3 separate regions of the Homo sapiens genome follow, and regions 1 and 2 are each linked to region 3. The links are contacts of gene promoters, found by promoter capture Hi-C in human tissues and cell types (Jung and others, 2019). All regions are on one chromosome and are shown on one strand. The core of a region is centred on a gene start or on the middle of the fragment in contact, and the rest is flanking DNA. Distances in the headings are between cores, read along the strand shown. Region 1 overlaps RBM18 (RNA binding motif protein 18). Region 2 overlaps MRRF (mitochondrial ribosome recycling factor). Region 3 holds the start of OR1K1 (olfactory receptor family 1 subfamily K member 1).

Region 1 (2,700 bases), core at 180-2,679, 550 kb before region 3:
ATTTGTTTTGTTTTTTTTAATGGCTGAAGCTTTTCTAGCGCATTCTCCCAGGAGACTAATTACAGAATGAACAGGGCAGCCTGCTACTTCTCAGGACTTAGACACAATACAGACACTGCAAAGTCCCACGAACCCACACCCTAGTAACTCCCAAGATTTCTGGAGTAAGGAGATGCCAGTGCTTTAAGCACTCACAGAAACTACCCATGTCTCAAGCGTTTAGAATAAACAAATTCAAATCTCCACAGAGTCAAAGGCTGGGAAGAGTCTAATAATGCCTAGAGCAACTGATTTTAAAAATAAATATATATTTTCCTCCAAAGAACCCTCCACCCGAAGAAATGACAGAGGTCTGAGCGTACACATTAGCCACATGAGAAAATCAAAACCAGGATCAGTGGGCATGTGGAGAGAAATAACCAAGGAACTTAATCCCTCCCGAGATGTTTTCAAAAGAAAAATCGGGCAACACACATGGTAGATACAAGTAGGAGACTGAAGTATGGCTGTTTCAGGTGTGAAGAGATTGGGACATAAACGGGTAAGTGGACAACCATCTTTCAGAAGGCTTGTTTAGGATGAGGCTTGATGTCTTTCTAGCCTCTCAGACGTACCTTTACTTGAGCATGTGCCCATCGCACCACCAGCTTCTTGGACAGGGCCAACTTGCCATTGAGACACTGGATGGCTTGCTCTGCTTCCTGTCCAGGAAAGGGACAAATGTTAGTTAAAAACTGAAATGCTTAACTAGCTATATGTATTCTCACAGGGCTTCACTAGCTTTGATGGCTGAGTTTCTAACAAATTGTTTTTGGTAAATAACTGGCAAGGGTTTACAATTTTACAAGGCAGAATTTTAAAAAGGGCATGGTTTTTTTGTTGTTTTTTTTTTTTTTTTGAGATGGAGTCTTGCTCTGTCGCCAGGCTCTGGAGTGCAGTGGTGCAATACCGGCTCACTGCAATCTCCGCCTCCCAGGTTCAAGCGCTTCCCCTGCCTCAGCCTCCCGAATAGCTGGGACTACAGGCATGAACCACCACGCCTGGCTAATTTTTTTGTATTTTTTAGTAGAGACGGGGTTTCACCATGTTGGCCAGGACTGTCTCAATCTCCCAACTTAATGATCCGCCCCCTCGGCTTCCCAAAGTGCTGGGATTACAGGCGTGAGCTACTGCGCCTGGCTAAGGGCGTGAATTTTTTAAAGTCAGACAAAAATTCAAATCCTGGTCTGCCATTTGCTGGCAGTATGCTATTTGGCAGGTCACTTAAGTGTCTCTAGCTTTGTCAACTGTAAAATACAGATAAATAATGTATAATCTTTAATAGATAATATGGATACTTATTCCTCAGTGGTTGTGAGGACTCAAAGAATGTAAAGCATGAAGTATATGATATGCACTTAACATATGTTAGTAATAGTGCTGTTCCTATTAGGTGATAGACATATATGCACTTCCGTTAGGTAGGGTAGCACCTCCTATGTCAAGAAACTGTACTCCCCGCAAGGGCCCTGGAACCATATCCTGGACTAGGGCATACTCCCTGGATTCATAGTGAGGAATAATTGCTTTAAAGGGCATGGGAGTCAAGGAAACTAGGCCGGAAAAAGCAGGAGTGAGTCAAAGAGACCGTTAGCAAGGTATCTGTGTGAGTCAATCTATGCACCTGGTTTTCAGAGCCGAAAGTTCCTTGACCCTTTCCCCATCAGACAGAGGAGTAATACGGTTGAAAGGAATTCCTGAAGCTGGCTAACAGTCACTCTAGGTCATTCCCAGGAAACCTGGCTGTACTTTCCATCCTGCCAAACCTTCTTTGCCCCATTTGCATCCATGAGGCATTCAGCCAAGTGTAACCCATGTTTAGTGAGGGTGAAGAAGCCCTTAAGGAACAGAGGAGGAACAGGATGTCCCAGGGAGCGGGAGAGGCTATAGAAGCCAGTTGGCATTCCAGTCTGGTTTTACTGGTGATTCTCTTGTTCCTCCAGAACCTACCAGTATGACATTTAACAAATATTTACTGAGTTCTCACTGTGTAGTAGGCATTGGATATTCACTAATCATCCTTGCCCCACTACAGCACACAAAGCTAGAGTGACAGGTAAGAAATATTTTATTCCTTTAAGCTTCATTTGGTGAATGAGAACTCATAGAGCACTCTATTAGTTCCAAAGTAGGAGCAGTAATAAGCTGCCAGCAGGGGCATCTTATTTTTAAATGTTTTTTTTAAAATAATTTCCTACCTGTACAAATTATTTCAAAGTTCATATATTTAAAAATATTATTAAATGTCTACTTTTTTTTTATACTTTCATCTATTCTCCCAACTTCCCATAAGGTAAGAAGGATATGTATTTTTAATCTCCATTCTTAGATGGAAAATTGAGGCCAAAAGAAGTTAGGAGACTTGCTCAAAGTTAATAAATAAAAGAGCCAGAAATATAAACTAGGCTTTGTATCCTAACCCAGTGTTTTTAAACCAACATCTATGCCCAACATGATCACTGATTTTAGTTGTCTGCAACAATTCCCAGGCCGGGCATGGTGGCTCACGCCTGTAATTTCAGCACTTTGGGAGGCCGAAGCAGGCTGGTTGCTTGAGCCCAGGAGTTTGATCAGCCTGACAACATGGCGAACCCCCGCTTCTACAAAAAATACAAAAATTAGCTGGGGTAGTGGTGTGTGCCTGTGGTCCCAACTACTTGG
Region 2 (2,700 bases), core at 166-2,665, 510 kb before region 3:
TCCAGGCACATGCCACCATACCTGCTAATTAAAAAAAAATGTTTTTGTAGAGATGTGGTCTTGCTGTTTTGCGCAGGTTGGTCTCAAACTACTGCCCTCAAGCATTCCTCCCACTTCACTCCCAAAGCTCTGGGATAACAGGCATGAGCCACTGCATCCAACCTGAATCTGAATTAGATAGGACTTAGATTTGGGGCTACTAAGGTTCTTTGGAATTCTAAAACTCTGTAATTTTTCTTTTAGGATCCCTTGACAAGATTGCTGTGGTAACTGCTGACGGGAAGCTTGCTTTAAACCAGATTAGCCAGATCTCCATGAAGTCGCCACAGCTGATTTTGGTGAATATGGCCAGCTTCCCAGAGGTAAGATGGCCTTGCTAAAATCTCTCTCCGTGGTCTCTTTTGGAATGGAGGAGACTGGGTCATATCAGGAGGAAGTGTTCCTTCAGCTTAGGATGAAACAAGAGAGAAGACATAATAAAGAGAACTTAAGGATAAGGCAAAGCTCTTTTCCTGTTGCCAGATTCCTTTTCTGTTAAACTCAGATGCTACAGAGGCTAGGTAAGTTGTTTGAATACCCAAACGGGTCCCATCTAAGAAAAACAATACTGGAGATGCAGTGATTGGTGCTTGGCCAGCGTGAAAAGGCTCTGGTGAGCTGGAGAGCCTGTACCTTGTGTGAGTGGAATGCCTCTGCCCAGCTCCTGCTGATCATTGCCAGGCACAATGTAGGCCTGGTAATCAGTGTTACCTGATACTACGATTTTTATTTCCAGAAGAAGCTAGTAACACAAATTTTTATGTGACATCTTTATTCTGTAAATGTTGATGACTAATTGAGTTTTTTTTTTAAAGACTATGAAGCAAATAAAACAATACTTTAATGGGCCAAATGTGGCCTGAGGGCCACCAATTTGTGACCTCTGCATTAGTATTTGGAGCAGACCCTCCAGGAAGTCCTTTTATACTAGACTGACCATTGCAGAATATTGCATGGAGCACAGTGCTTCCAAAACTGGAAGGTGGGTTGTATTAGGTCATTGCATCTTTGAAGCTTTATGATTTTAAGTGTAGTTGAAGAAGGTAATTGGGCTTTTTGTTATTGGTCCACTAGGAATTGGCCTGGATTAGGAGTCTTAGAGTACCTGGAATCCGGTCCCATCTCTACCACCAACTGGCTGTTTGACCTTGGGCAAGTTGCTTCACTCTCTGGGCCTCCATTTCCTCATCTGCTAATATAAGGTGAAGGAATCCTCCTGTTCTTATTGTCTATTTCAGTAGTTGTATTCCAAAGTCATAGACCAAGGTTGGACCTGTTGTATTTGACAAACTAGGCTAGAGATAGGAGAAAGGGAAAGCCCTTGCTGTGAACACACTGTTTCAAATCAAAGGGCTCTGATAGCTAATGGGCCAGGCACACCTGTGGGTGTGCTGTTACCACTCCCCTACTCCATTCTCCATACTATAACCAGAATGAGTTTTTGAAAAATATATATTGTGCCAGGCGTGGTGGCTCATGCCTGTAATCCCAGCACTTTGGGAGGTTAAGGTTAGAGGATCACTTGAAGCCAGGAGTTCAAGACCAGCCAGGGCAACATAGTGAAACCCTGGCTCTACAAAAATTTCAAAAATAAAAAAATTAGTGAGGTGTGATGGCACACACCTGTAGTGCTAGCTACTCAGGAAACTGCAGTGGAAGGACCGCTTGAGTCCGGGAGTTTGAAGCTGCAGTGAGCTATGATCATGCCACTGCACTGCAGCCTGGGTGACAGAGCAAGACCTTGTATCTTAAATAAACAAGGAAAAAAAAATATATGTATAAAAGATTTTGTCAGTTGTCATTCCCATGCTTTGCCTTTATTGGTGGCTTCTAGCAATCTTTAAGAAACAGTCCAAAATCCTCACTGTGGCCAAGAAACAGTCCAAAATCTTCATTATGGCCTAGATGGCTTTGCTTGATCTTGCCTCTGTTTTTTCAGTTTTGCCAGTCTTGTGCCACTGTCATCCTTGTACAATGCTTTAGCCACATTGGTCTTTCAGTTCCTCAAACACACCAAACCCTTTGCATCCTTAGAGCCTTTGCATATCCTGTTCCCATTGCATGGAACACTGTTGCATGGCTAATTGCTACTTATATTTTGGATCATGGCTTAAACGTCACTTTCTTAAGGAAGCCTTTCCTGACCTCTCCAATCTAAATTATTCTTCCACACTAAGTTCTCCTATACAGCACAATTCTTTTTCTTTATTGCACTTATTACTAGTGTACATTTGTGTACACATTTATTTTTCATCTCACTTTTACTAGAGTGTAAGCTTGGAATGTAGGAATGTCTAATTTGCTCATTGTGTCCAACACCAAACAGTGCCTGGCACATGGCACCATTTGGTAAATTTTCCTTGAATGGATGAATACCTGTTATTAGGTTGATAAAAGGGAGGCACTCATTTCTGATGTTAGTGAGGAACAGAGAAATTGATGAAAAGGGAACTGTCAACTGTTTCTCTTTCTGGGCCCCTCTGAACCACTGAGGCCTCTCCTCCTTGTTCATCTAATCCCGTAGGCACTGTGGGCCAATTTAGGGAATAGCCTCCTAATTACACAGCTTGAAGACCTCATCAGGCAGATTGCTTTTCAGAGCCAGCCACTTCTTTTATTAAATAGCAAATGGCATTCACAGAAGAAGCACCTGATTGGCCA
Region 3 (2,700 bases), core at 75-2,574:
GGAGTGCAGTGGCACGATCTTGGCTCACTGCAACCTCTGCCTCCTGGGTTCAAGATATTCTCCTGCCCCAGCCTCCCAAGTAGCTGGGATTACAGGCACGTGACACCACACCTGGCTAATTTTTGTATTTTTTTTTTTAGTAGAGATGGGGTTTCACCACATTGGCCAGGCTGGTCTCAAACTCCTGACCTCAGGTGATCCTCCTACCTTGGCCTCCCAAAGTGCTGGGATTACAGGCACGAGCCACTGCACCCGGCCTTGTTTTGTGTTTTAAGTCTGAAAATATCTGTATTCTTTACTCACACTTGAGTAGTATTTTTGCTGAGTGAAGAATTCCAAGTTCGAAATGCTTTTTTTCAGAATTTGAATATTGTTAAACTGTTCTATAATCTACTGTTGAATTGAAACATTTGATGGCAATCTAATTACATGGATATCATCAGTTCATTGCACCCCATGCCCTTAGGAAGTACTGGAGTCTCCTCTTCATTTCCAGTGTTCTAAAATTCCACTATTTGTGTCTAGGTGTTGTGAGTTCATATTCATTTCAATGTAAACATATGTGCTCTTCAGATTTTTTTTCTAGAGTTTCTTTCTTATGTTTCTCTCCTCCATCTTGGTTTGGTTTCATTTTTTCTTTTCCAAAATAAATGTCCATTGGCCAGATCTTTCTGTGTCGAACCTCACTCTGTTTCATCTTTTCTTTCATATTTTCCTCCTTCCCTGATCTACATCTTGTGCAATATCTTTTGTTCTATTTTTGCTTAAATCACAAACTATCAAAGTTGGACGTGACCTTGCAGATGAGTTACTTCAATTCTCTTATTTCGCAGGTTGAAAGTCTAAGGCCCCACAAGGTCAGGAGATCGAGAACATCCTGGCTAACACGGTGAAACCCCGTCTCTACTAAAAAATACAAAAAAAATTAGCCGGGCGTGATGGCGGGCGCCTGTAGTCCCAGCTACTCGGGAGGCTGAGGCAGGAGAATGGCGTGAACCCAGGAGGTGGAGCTTGCAGTGAGCTGAGATCGTGCCACTGCACTCCAGCCTGGGCGACAGAGCAAGACTCCATCTCAAAAAAAAAAAAAAAAAAAGAAAAGAAAATCTAAGGCCCAGAAAGGAAGAAGGTTCAGGGAGGTGAAATGACTTGCCCATAGTCATACCTGTGCCTAGGGCCAGGGCTACCTGACTCTAAACTCTTGATATTTTCCCATGGCCAGGAAGCCTTGAACAATTTATCCCCTCACCTTTTCCGTTAGACATCGGGGAGGTGACCCATCAATAGAAAGGAGCCCTTCAGGTTCCAGGCGAATAACCAGCCTGCCATGGAGGCTGCCAATGAGTCTTCAGAGGGAATCTCATTCGTTTTATTGGGACTGACAACAAGTCCTGGACAGCAGCGGCCTCTCTTTGTGCTGTTCTTGCTCTTGTATGTGGCCAGCCTCCTGGGTAATGGACTCATTGTGGCTGCCATCCAGGCCAGTCCAGCCCTTCATGCACCCATGTACTTCCTGCTGGCCCACCTGTCCTTTGCTGACCTCTGCTTCGCCTCCGTCACTGTGCCCAAGATGTTGGCCAACTTGTTGGCCCATGACCACTCCATCTCGCTGGCTGGCTGCCTGACCCAAATGTACTTCTTCTTTGCCCTGGGGGTAACTGATAGCTGTCTTCTGGCGGCCATGGCCTATGACTGCTACGTGGCCATCCGGCACCCCCTCCCCTATGCCACGAGGATGTCCCGGGCCATGTGCGCAGCCCTGGTGGGAATGGCATGGCTGGTGTCCCACGTCCACTCCCTCCTGTATATCCTGCTCATGGCTCGCTTGTCCTTCTGTGCTTCCCACCAAGTGCCCCACTTCTTCTGTGACCACCAGCCTCTCTTAAGGCTCTCGTGCTCTGACACCCACCACATCCAGCTGCTCATCTTCACCGAGGGCGCCGCAGTGGTGGTCACTCCCTTCCTGCTCATCCTCGCCTCCTATGGGGCCATCGCAGCTGCCGTGCTCCAGCTGCCCTCAGCCTCTGGGAGGCTCCGGGCTGTGTCCACCTGTGGCTCCCACCTGGCTGTGGTGAGCCTCTTCTATGGGACAGTCATTGCAGTCTACTTCCAGGCCACATCCCGACGCGAGGCAGAGTGGGGCCGTGTGGCCACTGTCATGTACACTGTAGTCACCCCCATGCTGAACCCCATCATCTACAGCCTCTGGAATCGCGATGTACAGGGGGCACTCCGAGCCCTTCTCATTGGGCGAAGGATCTCAGCTAGTGACTCCTGAGGGCAGGACCCCACTGAGGACAGACTGCATCACCCACACTGGCAACTGTTGAACGTGACCCTCTGTCCTCTGCTATGCTCAAAAATCATAACAGCTGTCATTTCCTGAGCACCTGCCCGGAAGCAGATCCTTGCCTGATCTCATTTTATTCCCACAGCCACCCAGGATGCAGATATTATGATCCGGTTTTACACACAAGAAAATTTGTCTTTAGGCTCAAAGATAAGAAGTGACTTTCCAGCCAGGCACAGCGGCTCACGCCTGTAATCCCAGCACTTTGAGAAGCCGAGGTGGTGGATCACCTGAGGTCGAGAGTTCAAGATCAGCCTGGCCAACATGGCGAAACCCTGTCTCTATTACAAATACCAAAATTAGCCAAGCATGGCGGCGCACAACTGTAATCCCATCTACTCGGGAGACTGAGG

What was found. The method cuts DNA at HindIII sites, captures the fragments that hold promoters and counts their contacts. A contact is called where the count stands out against the background at its distance.
Region 1: a contact is called between a fragment that was not itself captured here and the fragment with the promoter of OR1K1 in region 3, in 1 of the 25 tissues and cell types used here (IMR-90 fibroblasts).
Region 2: a fragment that was not itself captured here is called in contact with the fragment with the promoter of OR1K1 in region 3 in 2 of the 25 tissues and cell types used here (dorsolateral prefrontal cortex and hippocampus).

Annotation. Positions count from the first base shown.
Region 1 is chr9:122,246,904-122,249,603 of GRCh38, forward strand. It overlaps RBM18 (RNA binding motif protein 18), which reads right to left. Exons shown (of 6, transcript NM_033117.4): 4 at 615-701. Among named protein-coding and RNA genes, the nearest start is that of RBM18, 17 kb to the right of the region's middle. The HindIII fragment of the contact is 4,196 bases long and covers 1-2,700 here.
Region 2 is chr9:122,284,926-122,287,625 of GRCh38, forward strand. It overlaps MRRF (mitochondrial ribosome recycling factor), which reads left to right. Exons shown (of 7, transcript NM_138777.5): 4 at 244-362. Among named protein-coding and RNA genes, the nearest start is that of MRRF, 21 kb to the left of the region's middle. The HindIII fragment of the contact is 3,862 bases long and covers 1-2,700 here.
Region 3 is chr9:122,798,799-122,801,498 of GRCh38, forward strand. OR1K1 (olfactory receptor family 1 subfamily K member 1) reads left to right here and starts at 1,325. Exons shown (of 1, transcript NM_080859.1): 1 at 1,325-2,275. The coding sequence starts at 1,325. The coding sequence ends at 2,275. The HindIII fragment of the contact is 19,122 bases long and covers 1-2,700 here.